Linked DNA regions of Homo sapiens: regions 1, 2, 3, 5, 6 and 7 are each linked to region 4. The links are contacts of gene promoters, found by promoter capture Hi-C in blood cells and fetal thymus (Javierre and others, 2016). All regions are on one chromosome and are shown on one strand. The core of a region is centred on a gene start or on the middle of the fragment in contact, and the rest is flanking DNA. Distances in the headings are between cores, read along the strand shown.

Region 1 (2,700 bases), core at 102-2,601, 320 kb before region 4:
AAGAAGCAAACCAAAATGTAATACAATTTTATGCAATTGGTAGATTGTAACAATAAAAAAAATCCATTTGACATTTGATCTTGCAACAGTTCCCTTTAGGCGGCTCAGTTTGAATAGCATAGGATTACATTTGCTTGTCTGCAGGTCAAACCTCACTATTTAGATTGTCACTAAAGAATACACAATAAAATTATTGTAATTACTGTCTTCTGTTTTCAATTCTTAGGAACAATCTTTGAATAAAGCATGGAAGACTAAGTTATAGTAAAGTAATATAATAAAGTCATGGTAGAATAAAAAATGACAATGTTATTTATAGTGGTGTTTCTTCCGGTTTTAATTTTATTATTATATTTTCTTGTTTGTATGTTTGAAATATTTCACAGTAAAAAAAATTAAAAGTAATTGTTTATTAGCTGACCATAATCAGAAATAGAAATAGGAGATACAGAGAAGGTATTTATAAGTTCCCCAGAGAACAGACTCTGAGACTCTAAGACTTGGGTATAGGGAGGTTGTTGGAGAGTGTTCTCAGAAACATCACCTGTGAGAGTTGAGGGAGCCAAGACCAGGCAGGGGAGGAGTGAGTAGATACAAGGCCCCAGTCAATGCTGCAAGAAGTTTGGGAGGAGGCAGATGGCTCTTCAAAGTTGCTCCATTGAGGCCAATAGGCTGGCTACACCATTATAACACATAACCCATACTGACCAGTCACTGGATATGGGCTGCCCTCTGGGAGGTGGCATAATCTCTCACATAATCTCCAGGTAACTCCCTTCAGCCAAAAGCAATTCTTGGAGAGGGACTCAGCTGAGACCTCTTAGCTGCCAGCACTCCCCAAAGTTGGGGAATCAAGGCCTTGGTCCTGAAAGGGATCTGGGCAGCACGCCACACCACAGTGTCCATTACAAGGCAGAAGGAAGTCTGCCTTGTGTATTTTCCTGAACTTACACTTTGTAAGTTAGACATACTGTAAAAGGTGACGGGCCAAGAAATTGAGATGTAAGTATATTATTTAAAGTTATAAAGATTCCGATAGACTTAATATAAAAATAAAAATTGGGAGGGAGAACATGCGGTGAAATATAACTGAGTTAAATTCCTCAATATTCAAAGTATAAAGGAGTTTTCAAACAATCTTTAAAGTAGATAAACTAAGAGAGAGAAGTATAAACATATTTTAGAATTCTGCCTATAACCACAGGAGGACAAAACCTAGATCTGATTTTAAATGTTTACGTCTAAAGAGTCAGTCTAGGGGTAGGCCGGGAGATGTGGAAAACTTATGTTTTCTTTATCCTTTTGTAACTGTTTGAAATTTTATTACCACACACATGAACCATTTTTATAGTAGTTAAGAACAATAGCAACAACAACAAAAAAATCTCCCCCTTAGGAGCTGCTTGGAAAAACTTTCTCCTTTTATCTCCTTCCAACAGATAAACTGATTCAATCTGGACTCTCACATCTTATTCCTGATCCGAAAGTGTTGCCCGGAAAGCATAAGATGACCAGGCTTAGATAATACTCTACAGTTTTGTTTTTAATTTTAATTTTTTTTTTTTTGAGACGAAGTCTTGCTCTGTCACCCAGGCTGGAGTGCAGTGGCATGATCACAGCTCACTACGGCCTCTGTCTCCCAGGTTCAAGCGATTCTTCTGCCTCAGCCTCCTGAGTAGCTGGGATTACAGATGCGCACCACCATGCCTGGCCAATTTTTGTATTTTTAGTAGAGATAGGGTTTCACCATGTCAGCCAGGCTGGTCTCAAACTCCTGACCTCAAGTGATCTGCCCACCTCGGGCTCCCAAAGTGCTGGGATTACAGGTGTGAGCCACCATGCCCAGCCTTATTTTTTTTTAATTAAAATTTAAAAACCATTTAAACCTATTTACTTATTTACCATTGTATGCCCTGCAGTTTTGAGTGAACATCCTAAGGCTACCCTTTTGTGAGTTCTCCTTTTGGTTTAGTCCTGGCTTGGTTAGCAGAACCTAAAAGAATAGCCACTTCCAAAAACACGCTGGTAGGAGGTGAGGTTCCAAAGCCCAGTCCTGCCAGCTCCTATGGTGGGAAGAGCGACTGGAGCCTGGGGCCCGGGACTCCTGGCAACCCCAGCTCTACAAATGGCTGTGGGACTCTGAGAAAGCCTCTCCCAGGCTCAGGCGTCATCTGTGGAGTGGGAATAATAAAAGTAGCCACACGCTTTGTTGGGAGAGTTCAATGAGATGATGACTAGAAAGCGCTTAGGCCTGAGCACGTGGTCACCGCTCCTTAAATGTCTGCTGTGTTGGTGTCACTGCCGCTACCTTTTAGTTGTCACCGCTGCTCCTGGATTCCTCTGAAAAAGCTCAGGGAGACGCCATCTTCAAGCCTCATTAGGCATCTCCTTTGTGAAGAGCTCAGCCCCAAGGGCAAAATAAGGTCCCAGTGCTTCCAACAGTCCCTACTCTCAAGCCAGAGACAAAGAGAACAACGTCAGAGTCAATTCTCTAACTACCTTAATGACACTGAGAGCTGAGCCCTGAGCCCCGGGAAAGTTCCTGTGATGTGGTTGGAAAACTCCGTATCCCCTACTCAGCATGATGTCTCCGCCATTTGCTGGCCTGGATGTCCTGGACCCAGACAAAGCTCGACCATTTTCTGCTGTGTATGGTGTTCAGGACAGATGGTCCAGGCAGAAAGTTCAGCTCACTCTACC
Region 2 (2,700 bases), core at 161-2,660, 290 kb after region 4:
AAGTAAGAAGCTCATCCGCTGACCTCTTCACTTTGAGGATTCTCCCTGTAGAGTAAGCAGCCTGACAGCTGCTGAACAGGTTACTAGAGAGCATTCTCTTAGCACCACCACAAAAACACTTGGAATGCAAAGCAGCATTTAAGCAACATTCATACGCAGAAGTTAATCTGAAACACACATGGGTAGCCTTTCTCCAAACTCTGCATTATGCAATAACAGCATTCCCTCCAAACTAGTCAGTCAGTCCCAGGACTCAACCAGTTTTATGCTTTTACTGTTTTTAAAAATGAGTAACTATGCTACTGAGAGGATGCTCTCAATCTCCACAATAAATGTAACCTCGAGCCTTTCAGCTGCACTTACATCCAAACAGAATATCTAGGAGCACCCTTCTATATCCCATAAAAAGAGGATTCCAACTTAACTTTCATTATAATCCAAACACCTGTGGAGAGTGGGCACACTCCCAGTCCAAAACCTGACACGGAGCTGATGCTCAAGGAACATCACATGGGAAAAGTGAACATTGAGGTTAGTCTAGGGACTCAACATAATCACCTCAATTTCTAGGTCTGGAGGCCAGTGAAGAAATCAGATGGTCAAATTTAGAACTTTATGTCTTTAAATAAATAACCCGTGGCCACATATCTGTACTCCCCAGTGATACTTACACAACCTTCCTGCTGTTAGGGTAACCTGGTCCCTGGCATAAGGAGACCCCTGCAAGAAACAAAATAACTCTTAACCAACAACTCTTATCTCACAAAGGATACATGCTGGGAATGGAAAAGGTCTGCTCACCCCCAACCCTGAGACAGAGCAGGATCAACGGCAACGGATATAATCTTTATCATAGAGTCCTGCTTCTCAAACTTTTCCAAAGTAGCCTTAGTGGCAGAGAGCAAATGGGTATGTGAGATCGAGTGGGTATGTGTTTGGCTGGGGAGGAAAGAGAAAAAATTTGATGGCACAGCCCAAAGTGATTATATAATCTCATCTACCTTAAAAAGCCAGAACTTTTCATTATTCCTGTATGTTTTCATAATAAAATGTCTCTACTCGCCAAGTCTTCAAATACAACTGAAGCTTGAGAAAGACATGGGATGGCTTATCCTGTGACTATACATAACCCAATTTGAGAAGCAAGGAGGATGTTTGGTCTGGGTTTGAAAAGATTGGGTTGGAAATCTTATCACCTGAATCCTAGTAGCAAAGACTTGGCTACTTTAGGCTCGGGGTCTCCAGTTTGTCCTAGAGCTGAGAAAATCATGTCCCCATCTTTCAGTTTATTGACTTCCCATGCCTTTCTGAAGTCTTCCACCCTGGTCACTCTCAACAAGGTGAGAGACCCTTTCTGCCCACCAGCTGTCCTTATCATAGTTAACTGCATTTCCCCAACTGATGACTAGTAACTACAGCTGCCTCTTCTGAATTCTTTCTTATGTCTTTTTTCTTTCAGATTAACAACTCTTTCTGAACCATGGGCTCAGGACACACCAAATGAGAGCTAGCCCTCTCTTATGCCCACCTCCTCACAAGCATCCCAAGATAGGTAAGCCAGTCACCTTTATGTCCAGCAGCCAATGACTATGCAGTGCAAATTCTAAGCATAGTATGTTTTTGAACTAGAATAGATGGCGGCTCACACTGATTTTGGGAACCTGGAGTCCAATTCAGAGTTCATCCTACAGCAAATTTCATTTGTACAGTGCTTTAGGGTTTATAAAAAGCTTTCCCATAATGACCTCATTTTGATTTTACAGTCTCACAACTCTCTGAAGTGGAACGACCATCTGCCATTATTCCCATTTCATATAAGTAGGACTTTTGGAGGTTAAGCGACTAGCCCAAGGTGAATCCCTGAGCCCAAATGCAAATCCCCAAGTGCAAGGCTCTTTCCATTGTCCTGCCCACCTATGAAGTGGAGAAAATGTTTACTGACATTGTTCAGGGTTCCCACTTGAAAAACATGTTTGTTATTGAGAGTCCACTACAAGCCGACATTGTGCTAGGGGCTTTATGTTCTCATAACTCTCAGGATAAAGTCCACACTTTACGCGATCCTGTACCGTCCAGCCCACTCTATCTTTCCTGCCAGACAGGCTTCTTCCCATGTCTATCACTGGTCAAGTCCTTTCCTGTCTGAAAACCTTTGCACAAGCAATTCCCTTTGCCTGGAATACATTTTCTTGGCTCTTTTATATTCAGGTCTCAGTTAAATGTCACTTCTTCAGGGAAGCCTTTACTGACATTCCCAACCTTCCCAAGCTGGTCTACATCATCCCACCCTCTCATCACACCCTTTAATTCCTCTCTCGTAGTAACCAAAATTTATGCCCTTGTCGGAGCATAAATGTATATTTGCTCTCTCTCTCCAGCTAGCCCATAAAATCTCGAGGCTAGAGTCTATCTATACCCCTGTTACCTAGAACAGTGGCTGGCATATAGTAAGCACTCAATAAATGATCTGTTGAGTCCATGAGTAAATGAGAACATGGTGGGTTAAGAGTTCAGGATGGGTCAGGTAGACCTGGCTTATCAACAGCTGGGTGGGTGACCATGGCCAAGGCTTTTAAGCTCTCTTGTCTTGGGTTATGCATTTGTAAAATAGAGAAAATACTTTTTACTGTTTTGAGATGATTAACTAAAAAATTCACAGAAAGCACTCATATAAATGCTTGGCACAAAGAAAGCCCACAA
Region 3 (2,700 bases), core at 8-2,507, 320 kb after region 4:
AAGGGTTTTGTTTTGAGACTCAAATAGGCTTCTGAAATACAATGAATACCCTAAGGAAGAAAGAATCCATAATTTGGTTGTCAGCCACCCATAAACTTAGGAGGAGAGGGTCAAAGGAATGACGTCATCTAAGGTATGGCCTCCCCAACCCCATAGCTCTACAAGCAAAAATCCTATATTGTGTAGATAATTCCTGGGGAGCAGATGAGGAACAAGAAACTTCTGGGCCAAATGGAAAAGGAGTTTTCCTCGGGGATTAAACCCAGAGAGGTGGCTGGAAACGGCCAGAGGTCTCCAGTTTAAGGAACAACTTCCAAGGTGCAATGGAGTGCCTGGAGACTAGGGGCTGGGCATATGAAGGGAGAGGAGGCTCCCCATGAGGAGGCCTGAGTGGCCCAGGCTGATCTGCAGGGCTCTGGATCTTATTGCATCATCTTTGCAACCCTTAAGTAGACACTACTCTCTTAATGTATTTCCCAGAGTAACCCTCGGGATATTAATAATTGTTGAGTTAGAAGAAAAAGTACCTTGGGGAAATACTGAGATAGTTTCTTTTCTGCAGGAATTCTCAGAGCCTTTAACATGAGTAAATGGAAGCTCTAAGAGGAGAATGTACACAGCCCCAAACCCATATGACCACTTCTAACAAGCATCTTGCAGAACTTAAGTTCTTGAGAATATATTTTGGATGTTGCTTTTTAAGCTAGCTGTGCTCACGCTGCTGCTTCTTGTGTGCAGCTTTGAGGGGAATCTCCAGAAGCTGATGAGTCTATGGAGTTGCATATCCAGGTGGGAACAGTCGTGTCCTTTGCCTGGCAACTACTGTGAGGGCAGCAGGATGGGGTGGGACCAGCTCATTACCATGCCAGAACCTGCCTTTGTGTCCTAAATGCCATGAGCGCCCCCTGCCGGTCAAAAGTGTTGGAAACACCCCAAAGCTTTCCTGGAAGTTAGCGAGCAACTGTAAAACCAATGCTGAGAACACTTCACTTGCCACCACTCTTGGAGGCAGAGATTCCACCATAGACAGATTTTCTTTATAAGAAAGGCTACCTGTCTGGGCCTTTGATAACCACTAGTTGACTCTCCATTAAATTCAGACAGCTGCAAAAACACCTCAGTCTCCCAGAATTTGCTATTTGTTGAGCACCTACATGTGCCTGTTCCTGCCCCCTAAATTGGGGATTGGGCTCAGAGAGCTTCTGGAGGTTTGGGGCCTATCCTAAGAAATACCTAAGCCAGGACTGGCTGCATGGGTGAAGTACTTGACTATCTTTGGAATGACTTGGGACCCCCTAGCAGCACCCTGGCCCCTCAACTCTTCCCTCATTCCTGCTGCCTATATTCCAAGAGATTTATTCCTGTGGGCCATGAAAGCCACCTGAGAGCAAGCTGCTTTACAGCATAAAAAGAACGTTCACATTCACATGACATCCTGTGACATAGGTAGGGCAGATGTGAAGATCACGAGGGGAGCATTGACAGAACACCTTCTCGGTGGCAGGCATTGCTACCAGCACTTCACACATATGTGCCCACCACCACTTAGCTACAATTCTGAAACCCATAAAGCTTTGACAGGCCCTATGATTTTCCCCCCCTAAGAATGATGCAATCTTTTTTTTTTGGTAGCAAAACCTGGCTTGCACTGATTGGAGGCTATTAATAGATTTTATCCCACTTAGTATAGTCATACGTTCTGCTGCAGAAATGTTAATGTATTGGATTATACACTGTCTCAGCTGTGGATGTTAATTAATGTGTGGTACACACATCGTATTATCTTTATAAGCTAACAAATTCTGAAATCCAAACTCCATTTGGCTCAGCATTTCAGATAACGGGTTTAGACCTGTATTATCTCACCGTTCTCAAGCATCCACTCTAAGATCGGGTATCCGAGAAGCAGAGACAGAGAAGGGAGCTAACTCGTCCAAAGTCCCAAGACACACTAATGAGCAACCAGGATTTAAACCCGGGATCTGATGGCCAAGTACAAGCTTTAACCACTATACTCCACATCTTAGCAATGAGGCTCAGAGCAGTTAAGTGGCTTGCCCAAGGTCACACAGCTAATAGATGGCAAAATCAGTGTCTGAAACTGGGTCTTTGGAATCCCAATCCAGGATTCTCTCCACAGCATTTGTGGATCTGTAGGAAGGGTAAGTAGGGGCTGATGGGGCAGCAGGGAGGGATCTCCTGTGCAGCAACTAGGTGCCTGGGCCACCTATAACCATAGTCAGTTGGTCTGGTTTCTTTTGGTTAAACAGATTCATCCTATGTGGAAGTCTTCACTGTCTTAAGCTACAGCTCTCGGATCTGAGATCCCAGGTTACTCTGTGTAATGCTTCTCACCCAGCCTAAGGACTGTCCCTAAAAATGCAAAGCGTATTTGTGTAAATCTTTTTTTCATTTCCGTCCTGCCCTAGTGCTAGGCAGTCACATCACAATTCTCCGACTCTTGTTAAAGGGGAAGGAATCTGTCTGTTCCCAGAGTGAGGTATAGTTTGGAATCTAATTTCCATATATGTGTATGGATTAAGGTTGACCGTTCACTCACTTACTCCTTCACACAACAAATATTTATTGAGCACCTGCTATGTTCCTAGCACTGGGCTAGGCACAAAGATGAAAAGATAAGGTCCTCACTCTCAAGGAGCTCACAGTCTAGACGAGACAAACATACAGTAAAAATTCCAA
Region 4 (2,724 bases), core at 179-2,678:
CCACGTTTATTTTCTACACTTGATGTTAGCCAAAAGGCCAAGGAGCAATTCCATTTTCTTTCTTTCCTTCTTTCTTTTCTGAGACAAGTCTCACTCCGTCGCCCAGGCTGGAGTGCAGTGGCGCCATCTCAGCTCACTGCAACCTCCATCTCCCGGGTTCAAGCAATTCTCTGCCTCAGCCTCCTGAGTGGCTGGGATTACAGGCGCCCGCCACCAAGCCCAGCTAATTTTTTTGTATTTTTAGTAGAGACGGGGTTTCACCATCTTGGCCAGGCTGGTCTTGAACTCCTGACCTCGTGATCCACCCGCCTCAGCCTCCCAAAGTGCTGGGATTACAGGTGTGAGCCACCGCGCCTGGCCGTTTATTTTAATATATTCTTCAGCTCTGAATATTTGCTAGTATCCCAGTAATAGTTTGTTAAATCAATAAACGTGTTGACATACATGCATAGCATAATGTCTGGCACACAGTAGGTACTCCATTGAATGAATGCATGAATTATTACCGTGTCAATTTGCTTGTCTATTTGCAAATGTTAATAGTTAATTTGATCCCTAAAGTGTTTGTGAACTTAAAACACACACATACGCACTTTCCCTGACAACGCTTATCTGCTAACCCCTTAATTATGTTCATCTGAGACTGGACCAAAACATGTTGTTTTATTCAATTTAAATACCAAATTCAAATTTATTTTGAATATAGCTTAGAACACATTCAATGTTTGCTAAAATAATAATAATAATAATAATAATAATAATAATAATAATACCATGTACATTCAGTTAGCCAGACAATTACTCCAGCCCAAATACCCTGCTATGGGACATGAACCGGATGTCTGCCCGGCACACATTCATCAGGTGACCCCTAAAACTTCTTCTCTAAGGTCCACACTGTCTAATAGCCAAGTTGAAATCTTTCCTCGAAATTTTCCTCTCTAGTGTCTCAGTGCCCCAGGTGTCATCAAGGTGTCAAAGGCGCTTGGGAGTGCCTGCAAACCGCCCCATCCCCGGAGACACAGCCTCATTCCCCGCCCTCGCGCCTAGGCGGCCGGTGGGCGGGCCCAGCGAAGGGCCTTGTGGCTGTTTCCTATTGGGGCTTGGTTGCTATGGTGTCACTCGCCTTTAAACTCGTGGGTACATCTTTCGGAAATTAAAGGAGAATTACTTCCAGGGCTGCCCATACTTGCCATGGCCGACTCAGTAGTCACTAACTTCAACAAAAATAAAACTGTTGCAATAGTATTCTATTAAAGCTTCTTTAACTGCTTAAACTTGCGGTTTTGACATGGTACCTATCCTTTCTTCCCTTTTCAAAAGATTCGCTATAGAGTCTTTCTCTACATGCCAGTCTCCAAAATGGCGCGGACGGCATCAGAAGGTCAGAGGTGAGTCACGTGGGTCCCCCCGGTTCCGGCGCGGTTGAGGCCTTCGGTGGTGAACGAGTCTCCAGCACCATGTCTGGTTTGTCTGGCCCACCAGCCCGGCGCGGCCCTTTTCCGTTAGCGTTGCTGCTTTTGTTCCTGCTCGGCCCCAGATTGGTCCTTGCCATCTCCTTCCATCTGCCCATTAACTCTCGCAAGTGCCTCCGTGAGGAGATTCACAAGGACCTGCTAGTGACTGGCGCGTACGAGATCTCCGACCAGTCTGGGGGCGCTGGCGGCCTGCGCAGCCACCTCAAGGTGCGGCATTGGGCGACGTGGGGCCGGGAGGGAAGACGGCAGGCTTAGGCGAGGGGAGGCTCGGGTTCGGGGGAGTCGGGCCGGCGGAGGCCTGGGAGTTGTTCTGGCCTCCCGGGAGCGCAAAGGACGTGCGGTGGAGCCCGCCCCCTCACCCCGCTGGTTGCCTGTCGCGGGGCGGGGCGGGTCACCAACGCCTGGGAACCCCAAGAAGGGCTGCGAGGCTTTGGCGGATGTGGTGACACCTGAGCTGGGGCGGTTGTCAACGTCCTATACCAGTTTTGGTCTCAGATACATTGAACCGTAATTTGGTTCTCCAAATAAATGTTGGGGTGTTGAATATTTATACGGATTGGCATCATAAGATACCGCGATACCTGCAGGAAAGTAAAGGAGACAGAGCTAACCGTGATTAATAAAATGTTATTTATTGAGCATCTGCTGTGTCAGTTACTGTGCTACTTTGCATATATTACCATTTGGTTCATGCACTACCCTATGAAGTAGGTAGGTACTGTTAGCCCCATTTTACAAATGAGGAAACTGAGACTCAGAGGTAGGATAAACTAGTAAGTGTCACAGATGGAATAGATTCTTTTTTTTTTTTCAAAATTATTATTATACTTTAAGTTCTAGGGTACATGCGCACAACTTTCAGGTTTGTTACATATGTATACATGTGCCGTGTTGGTGTGCTGCACCCATTAACTCGTCATTTACATTAGGTATGTCTCCTAATGCTATCCCTCCCACCTCCCCCCACCCCACGACAGGCCCCGGTGTGTGATGTTCCCCACCCTGTGTCCAAGTGTTCTCATTGTTCAATTCCCACCTATGAGTGAGAACATGCGGTGTTTGGTTTTCTGTCCTTGCGATGGAATAGATTCTTACTTAGTTTGGTAGTTAAGTATGTTGAGGGAAAAGCGCTGCAACCTTATTCCTTCCTTGTTTTAAATTTGTAATTTCTGTAGTTGATTAAAGTCGATTATTGGTTACAAAATGGTCTCAGTCTCTAGTCCTTTTTCTTTGGTATGCCAGAATC
Region 5 (2,700 bases), core at 126-2,625, 270 kb before region 4:
GCATGTGTGTGGATCTTGCCTTTTTTTAATAATAGATAAAATTATGCTTTAAAAAATGAGACCCTGGCAAGTGACTTAATCTTCTGAGCGTCAGCTCTCTAACAACTCATACTACTAACACCACCTCATAGGGTTGTTGGAACAGATCAGAGATGACGTCTACAAAAGAAGTTTGCAAACTATAAAGTGCATTGCTTGTGTATGACTTCTGACCTGAACACAGATGTCCTCGCTCCTTCAAAGAACTGGGCTGGTTTCTTAACTGGATTACCAGGTTTTCAGCTAATGGCTACAGGTTAGAACACCTGCCAGCCCCACTCAGACCAGCTGAATCAGGATCAATATTTTTGAAAGACTTTCCGGGGAATTCTAATCAGTAGTCAGAGTTAGAAACTGCTATTCTATACCATATATCCTCCCTAGTTCTATATTAAATCCTATCAGATTGTTCTCCTTGCTCCTGGATAGATACTAGCAATAAAAAGGAAAAAAGGCTTCTTCACTGCCGCTGGTCTAAAAGGGGGTTTTAATAACCCTAGCTACTAATTCTGGAACATTGTTACATACTGGGGGATTTGTATACATTATTCCTTTTCAGCCTCCCCACAACCCTGTAAGGCAGATATTATTATTCTCCATTTTTAAAAGCACTTTATTGAGATCAAACTCACACATACCATACAATTTGTCCATTAAAGTATACAATTCACCAACTTGTATTATATCCAGAGTTGTGCAACTATCACTACAATTTTAGAACACTTTCATCACCCCCAAAAGAAACCTCATATCCCTTGGCCATCACTCCCCACTCCTCCCATCTCCCCACCCCTAGGTAACCACAGTACTGGCTCTACTTCCTGTCTCTATGAATTTGCCTATTCTGGACATTTCATCTAAATGGACCCACACACTCTGTGGTCTCTTGTGGCTGGCTTCTTTTACCCAGCATAATGTTTCCAAGGTTCATCCATATTACAGCATGTATCAGTTCTTCATTCCTTTTTATGGCTAAATAATAATCCATTGTATGGATAGACCATGTTTTATTTATTCATGCACCAATTCATGGACATTTGAGCTGCTTCCACTTTGGAGCTATTATGAATAATGCCACTGTAAACTCTCATGTATGTTTTTGTGTGGACATGTTTTCCTTTCTGTTGGGAAAGGAAATATATGTAGGAGTGAAATGGCTGGATCGCATGGGAACTCTGTTTAGCCATTTGAGGAACTGCCAGACTGTTTTCCAAAGTGGCTGCATCATTTTACATTCCCACGATCAATTCATGACGACAGCTTCTCCACATGCTCACCAATACTTGTTATTATCTCTTTTTTTTCACTATAGTCATCCTAGTGGGTGCAAAGTAGTATCTCATTGTGGTTTTTGACTTGTATTTCCTTGATGGCTATGATGTTGAGCATTTTTTCATGTGCTTAGTTGCCATTTATATATTTTCTTTGGAGAAATTAATATTGAGATCTTTTGCCCATTTTTCTACTGGGTTATTTGTCTTATTATTGAGCTGTAATCATTCTTTATATATTCTAGATACAAGTCCCTTATTGGATCTACGATTTGCAAACATTTTCTCTCATTCTGTGGATTTTCTTTTTACTTTGTGTCCTTTGAAGTACCAAAGTTTTTAATTTTGAAGATGTCCAATTTATTTTTTTTATTTTGTTGCTTTTATTTTTGGCATAAAATCTAAGAAACCACTACCTAATCCAAGGTCACAAAGATTTACAGCTGTTTTCTTCTAAGAGTTTTCTAGTTTTCACTCTTACATTTAGGCCTTCGATCCATTTTGAGATAATATATGTATATGGTACTAGGTACTAGGTAGGGGTCTATTTCCCCTATTTTTACAAGGGACGAAACTGAATTTCAAACATCTAGTGAACTCTCCAGAGCCAAACTATTCCAATGCAGCAGTCCTGCTTTGCTACATTGCCTCCAAAAAGGCAAGGGTTTTTATTCGCGGGGACTGGGGAGTTGGTAGGGTGTAGGGAGGACTACAGAGGCAAACCACGGAGGAGTTTGTCAGAGCATACACATGCACTACGCTCAGTAAAAGGGGATCCTGTAGCCACAGAGCAGAGCACAGTCAATGAGCCCCAGCATATGGCAGGTTGTACACAACCTGGAAGGGTGGCTAAACCCAGAGGAGGCCCAGGCCCTCACTCCCAGCACTTTCACATCCCGCCTGAATCCATCCATGAGTTCCTCTAGATCTCCATGCTCCAACCTCAGGCCAGGTTGCCTTGTGCCTTTTGGGCACAGTAGAAGGAAAACAGACTTAAATGGCTTCATAGTTGTTCAGCCAGATGAGCCTCACCCAGGAGAGGACTCAGTTTCCCAACTCTGAGTCCATGTTGCCGGTGGACCTGGAAACATCAAAGTAAGATGGTAGGATTGACAGAAGACTTGACAGCCCTTCTTAAGGCTGCTAAAAGATTGTTGGTTGATGGGAATACAACGATGACATTAACACCACAGGAAACAAGATAAGGGGTCACAGAAGGCAGCTTAGGGGAAAACAGAGGCTTGAAAAGCCTTCTCATTTATAGTTTGTTATGATAATTAAAACTCCAGCTGCGTCTAAACTGCATAAACAACCAGAAACTGGAAAGTCTGCTTGCTTCCCTGAAACCCAGGTCATAGGCTAATACTTCAGAAAGGTTAGTGCTGTCAGA
Region 6 (2,700 bases), core at 128-2,627, 340 kb after region 4:
TGCCAAGGGTTAGAGATGGTGGGGTTGGGGGACTAGGAGAAAGGTGGAGGGTGGTTACACCAACCTACATATATGAAAGAATTGTATACAAATATACCCATACCATGTATTCCATGCCACGAAAAGAACAGAGATGCAGCTGAAACAATTTCTGAAATTTTTCAGTAAACCTCTTTATATTATGAAGGTACCTTTGGAAAACCAAAGAAGGAGGTGGGGGGGAGAGAAAATGTGAATATTTTATATATGATCTGAATGACCTCTAAAACATACTGGTAAAGGAAAAATAAGGTAGTGTGTGTACAAAAACCAGGTAAAAACATTAATACTTAATGCTTATCCACACAATTTTTCTCAACACTGGTTGCCTCTACAGATGGAGTCGTGGGAGGCTGAGGGTTAAGATGGATGGGACACTTGAACCTCCTGAGTTTTATACCTTTATGAACGCATTATTTATTCACAAAGTTACTTTCTTCTTGAATATGTGAAAATCAAGGCAAATCAATGATTCTGTGCCCTCACCTATGTTTATACCTGTGGTCTGACAACTACTTTCTGTTACTACTCAACCCCCTCTAAGTACTAAATTACCTTTTACACCTGAGCCTCTCAAGCCTCCGTACTAGTTCTGAAAATCAATGTCACTGGTTACCTGAAAATGCTTCTGAATAATTACTCTTTCAACACACTGTACTATTACATATGACATAGCTCAGTCTATGATAGCTGACTATAAAACGTGACAACTATCTTCAAGCCAGCTGGATATTTTGAATTTCAAAAAGAACACATGAGAACAAGTCAAAAAGTAACGATGATGGTGACTACTGATTTTTGAGCTTTTACTATGTGCTCAGTACTGTGCCAAGTAGCTTACATGCATTATCTCAATGTTTAATAGGTGTGTTTTGTTATTTTCATTTTATAGGCAGGAAACTGAAGCTCAGATAGGTTAAAATATTTCAGCCAGGCACGGTGGCTCACGCCTATAATCCCAGCACTTTGGGAGGCTGAGATAGGCGATCATTTGCTCCCAGGAGTTCAAGACCAGCCTGTGAAACATGGCAACAACCAATCTCTTAAAAAAAAAAAAAAAAAAAAAGGCTGGGTGTGGTGGTGCACACTTGTAGTCCCAGCTACCTGGGAGGCTGAGATGGGAGAATCACCTGAGCCCAGGAAGTTGAGGCTGCAGTGAGCTATATCGCGTCACTGCACTCCAGCCAACAGAGTGAGACCTTGTCTCCAAAAAAAAAAAAAAAAAAAAAAAAGTTGCTTAAGGTCATACAGCTTCTAGAAGAATCTGAACTTGTATTAGGGTCTGTGAATACTAAAAATGAGAAATCATTCTCCTTCTATGGCTTAGCAAAACTTATCTCAGCTGAGAATCTGTTGCTTTTATAATCCTAGTAATTAAGCCAGGCTCTAGACATCTTTACCAAAATATCTGCAATTTGCACAGTTAGCAGGATAAAATACTTAACACAAAAACTGAGGGGCCTACAAAATAAGAAAACCTCAGTTGAGATTCTTAGTCAATCTAATAAAAAATGTAATAGTCGATCTCTAGATGACATGGCACCTACTTTGGTTTGCTCAATGATCAAAACTCTTTCACGAGGAAAACAAATCCAACCAGAAAATTTAAGATTTTATCTTTGTCAATAAACTTCTGGATTTAACACTGATATCTGAATCAAACTCAAACTTCTAGAAAATTATATGAATCAACTGTCAATAGACTACTTGTGTATTATTATTAATGACTTCTGATTCTACAATCAGTCCCTGAATATTTCAAATACGGCACTTAACTCTAAATATTCTCAAACAGAAACATTTCTGGGTCTCGTCTACTGAATTCCTCACACAGGAAGTTTACAAGTAAAGTTAGATCACTTAAGTGAGAGATTTCACTTTCAGTTTAAAATGTCTGAAATCATCCTTTACAGAGCTGACAAAAAAAAAAAAAAAGCTGAAATACCCACCAAGGTATCAGAAACCTTTCCCAACATAAGATTATTTTAAGTAACATGACACCACAAAAGATTTAAAATAAAACTCATATGATTTAAACCAGCAACTTTCTAAGAGAAGACAATGTTAATAAAATTAAAATAAAATGCTAGCAAATAATGGAATCCAAAATTAGTCCTCTGCATTTCCAGGACACCTCTTAACAAACTTAAAATATTTGTATTATCAAGGCATTTTCTACCCACACCAAATTTCTTCTTCAAGATACCTTGGGCTTCCTATACGATACTGCTTCTAATAGTAATGTAAGTGCAAGAATTTTGTTAAGTCCCACATTGGACTAGCAAAATCAATTATCAGCTGGCTGTCTCTATTACTCTTTTTGGTGCCAAATCTTTTTTCATTAATCTCCTTGCATGAAGGTTGTTATACCCATTTTCTAAAGTAGGAGCACTCTATGTTCATTCTCTAAGGTCACGTAATCTATATCTTCTGAAAATTGGCAGAGGCCGTTTCTGACTATGTTAACTCTTCCCCAGCTTCCCACCCTGCCCTGGTATAAGAGCACAGACATAAAGCCATGGCTGTAAGGTGAAAACACACATATGCAAAATTACCCATGATTCCAAGTGACTCACGGATAATCACCACTCATTTCATTGGCATTCTAACTACTGTCAGAACATCACAAGGTTAAGGACAACTGAAATAAAGCATCCTGCA
Region 7 (2,700 bases), core at 11-2,510, 290 kb before region 4:
GGGCACGCTGGGCTGGCACTGGCCTGTTTTCTGCAGGAAGAAGCACAGACCCTGCTACTGAGCCCCTGGCTAACTGACTTTCTGCAGGCAGTGCCTGCCACAGCGGTGACACTGGCCTGTGTCATGTCCAGGTTATATTCTAGGGCCAGCCAGACTCACGTCCCACCTCTCTCCCCTCCCTCAATCCACCCCAGCTTCAGTGACCACCTTGCTGTTGCTCAAATATGCCAAATACTCTGCCGCCTCAGGGCCTTTGCACAAGAAAGAAAGGGTGGGCAAAGAAAGGAGGCCAGGTGGACCTAGAGCAGGTCTACGGAGCAAGCATGGGGGGGCCCAAGAGGGGACCCAGATGGCAGTGTAACGGCAACGTGCTTTGATGTGTGACAGACACATGTGGGAGATATCTTGGCCGGTGGGATCAGTGAGTGTAGTGTAGTCATGTCATTCCTCCTAAAACATGTGCTTCCTAGCTATTAGTCTATAATTATTTCAATAGCCTCTTCCTTATCCCTATAATCTGGAAGCTTTGCCCACAGACAGGGAATCAGCAGTCATCCTGCTGGATCCCAAATGAGGTTTCCAATAGACCTTGAGTGAGATTTCCAGGGAACTTCCGGCTCAGCTGGAGAGGTTCCAGGGGAAGGAAGGAATGTTGACGATTTGATTCGGGAGGTGGCGAGGGTTACATGTCCATCGTGTAGATGGGAGATGGGCATATCGATTCAAGGCTTGGGGGATTGAACAGTAAAACAGCATCTGAATGATTTTTCTTGGATTATGTCTGAAAACTTTGAGACTTGGCATTTATTCGAGGGCCAGCAAAGTTTCAGACCAGTGGTTCTCAACTAGGACTGATTTTTGCCTCCCAGGAGACATTTGGCAATGTCTGCAGACATTTTTGATTGTCACAACTCAGAGGGAGCTGTGCTACCAGCATCTAGCAGGTAGATGCCAGAGATGCTCTAAACACCCTTCAATGCACAGGCCAGCCCCACAAGTATTTAGTCCAAAATGGCGATAGCGTAAGAGATTGAGCAACTTGTATCAGTCAAAGAGCAAGCAGTAGTTGCAACTGCGTATGTGACAACCAGAGGGCCCGTAAGCCCATAAGCCTGCCAGTCCTCCTGGCAGGGTACAGGTGGAGCGGCCTCCCCAGGGGGTCCCCAGAACCCTCAGTGGGCCCAACCCTCTCCCTCCAGGGGTCCCGTCTTCCTCCCACAGCTGGTCTGACCGAACTGTTCCTTGGCTCATCTCTGAGGTGGCAGCATGAGTGCCCGGGAACTCTGAGACGGGCAGGCCTCGTGACCAGACGCTGAGAGAAAACAGCCTCACTAAAGGAAAAAAAAATGCTCGGGGAAAATATTAAAAACCAGCTCTGGTGGTTTTTGGTTCCACAGGCTGGGACGTGACTGGGAAGCTGGCCTGGTCCTCTGTTCTGAGAATTCCAAGAGAGGCGCATCTCGGAGGGCCAGGAGAGACCCCTCGTGAATCCATGGAAGCCTGTGAGCCCTCGGGCTGGGGCAGTTAGGTGCCAATGTCAGCCCCCTGCTCACTGGTGACTCTCTGGTGACCTTGGGAACTTCTCACAAACCCTCTGACCATCACGGTCTCCCCAGCCCAAGGGCTTAGTTCCATCTTCAAACTCTCCTGAGCCCCTGCCTCAAGGGGTGTCAGGGTAACCCACCCATCTGTGAGTGTTTGCTGAGGCCCTGCTATGTACAGTGAATGCCCTGGGGAATCCAAGAGCCATGAGCCCCCAACTGGCTCTTGTGGCCTTTCCACTGTAAGGGGAAGAAGCAATCTGTGCAACAAGGCAGAGCTTACTACTGTGTGACCAACAGCCACCCAGGGTTCAGAAGACCTTAGAGAGGGCTAAAGAGCGGGTCTGACCTTGGGCATGAAAGATGGGTTGACTCAGGCTGGGTTGAGAAGGGGAAGGAGGGACTTGCGGGTGGAGAACCCTGAGTGAACAAAGACCCAGGCATGGGAAAGCTTAGGATGGGTTTAGAAGGGAAAACTACTCCACTGTGATCATAGCTCGCTTTAGGACTTAGTAGGGTAGAAAGTGAGAAGGTGGGTTGAGAGCCAGCCTGTAGCTCTGGAAAGCTTGTGGGTTCAGAATCTGAGTCTAGAAGCAAGTTTCTTAACTTCTCTGAGCCTCAGTTATCTCCTCTGTAGACAGGTGAGGCTCTTGGGGATTAGATGAACTCACAGGGAAAAAGCACTCTGTAAACCAGAGAGGCTTACTGTAACTTATAAGCAAGAGAATAGCATAAAGAAGAAAGAGAGGAAGAGAAGGAAGACGTCTCAAAGAAAAATCAGCTGATCTTGGTGACTAGCTGGATTTGGAGAAGGAAGGAGATAGGGCAGAGAGCTGACTATGAACCCAATGGAGGGTCTGAGGAATGAAGCCTGGGAGGGCAGCTGTTCTGGAAAGCGGTGGGAAGGAAAAGGAGGAGTTTGTTTTGGGTACAGTGAGTTTGAAGTTAAAACTGGACATGCAAGGGGAAGCCTCTGACAGGCAGAATTCAACAGCACTGCACACATAGATCTGCCTCCTAGAAATTACCACGTGTCAAACCAACTCTATGTGGGAGCGTCTGTATCACACACAAAGATCAGTGCAGTGTAGGGTAACTTGCTTTACTCATGCAGCTATCATACAAAGAACATTATATTCTGTGGGTTTTAAATGTTAGG

The links. The method cuts DNA at HindIII sites, captures the fragments that hold promoters and counts their contacts. A CHiCAGO score of 5 or more calls a contact.
Region 1: a contact is called between a fragment that was not itself captured here and the fragment with the promoter of TMED10 in region 4, in 6 of 17 cell types (neutrophils, monocytes, activated CD4 T cells and 3 more). The highest score is 11.6, in neutrophils.
Region 2: a contact is called between a fragment that was not itself captured here and the fragment with the promoter of TMED10 in region 4, in 1 of 17 cell types (fetal thymus). The highest score is 6.0, in fetal thymus.
Region 3: a contact is called between a fragment that was not itself captured here and the fragment with the promoter of TMED10 in region 4, in 1 of 17 cell types (fetal thymus). The highest score is 5.7, in fetal thymus.
Region 5: a fragment that was not itself captured here is called in contact with the fragment with the promoter of TMED10 in region 4 in 2 of 17 cell types (monocytes and neutrophils); the score reaches 11.5 in monocytes.
Region 6: a contact is called between a fragment that was not itself captured here and the fragment with the promoter of TMED10 in region 4, in 1 of 17 cell types (total CD8 T cells). The highest score is 5.3, in total CD8 T cells.
Region 7: a fragment that was not itself captured here is called in contact with the fragment with the promoter of TMED10 in region 4 in 3 of 17 cell types (neutrophils, monocytes and megakaryocytes); the score reaches 7.8 in neutrophils.

Annotation. Positions count from the first base shown.
Region 1 is chr14:75,499,415-75,502,114 of GRCh38, reverse strand. No RefSeq gene overlaps it. Among named protein-coding and RNA genes, the nearest start is that of BATF, 22 kb to the left of the region's middle. The HindIII fragment of the contact is 4,882 bases long and covers 1-2,700 here.
Region 2 is chr14:74,883,606-74,886,305 of GRCh38, reverse strand. It overlaps DLST (dihydrolipoamide S-succinyltransferase), which reads right to left. Exons shown (of 15, transcript NM_001933.5): 3 at 672-720. Among named protein-coding and RNA genes, the nearest start is that of DLST, 3.0 kb to the right of the region's middle. The HindIII fragment of the contact is 644 bases long and covers 1,089-1,732 here.
Region 3 is chr14:74,859,300-74,861,999 of GRCh38, reverse strand. All of the region lies in intron 3 of PROX2 (prospero homeobox 2), which reads left to right. LOC124903348 (a long non-coding RNA gene) reads right to left here. Exons shown (of 2, transcript XR_007064269.1): 2 at 2,565-2,700. Among named protein-coding and RNA genes, the nearest start is that of PROX2, 15 kb to the left of the region's middle. The HindIII fragment of the contact is 634 bases long and covers 941-1,574 here.
Region 4 is chr14:75,175,316-75,178,039 of GRCh38, reverse strand. It overlaps TMED10 (transmembrane p24 trafficking protein 10), which reads left to right and starts at 1,428. Exons shown (of 5, transcript NM_006827.6): 1 at 1,428-1,685. The coding sequence starts at 1,461. RefSeq lists enhancers at 1,278-1,517, 1,032-1,604. The HindIII fragment of the contact is 2,239 bases long and covers 1,262-2,724 here.
Region 5 is chr14:75,444,781-75,447,480 of GRCh38, reverse strand. The region is part of intron 2 of JDP2 (Jun dimerization protein 2); the gene reads right to left. Among named protein-coding and RNA genes, the nearest start is that of JDP2, 18 kb to the right of the region's middle. The HindIII fragment of the contact is 4,825 bases long and covers 1-2,700 here.
Region 6 is chr14:74,837,549-74,840,248 of GRCh38, reverse strand. LOC105370569 (a long non-coding RNA gene) reads right to left here and starts at 1,083. Exons shown (of 2, transcript XR_944033.3): 1 at 104-1,083. The HindIII fragment of the contact is 4,486 bases long and covers 1-2,700 here.
Region 7 is chr14:75,466,511-75,469,210 of GRCh38, reverse strand. The region is part of intron 3 of JDP2 (Jun dimerization protein 2); the gene reads right to left. Among named protein-coding and RNA genes, the nearest start is that of JDP2, 40 kb to the right of the region's middle. The HindIII fragment of the contact is 1,468 bases long and covers 527-1,994 here.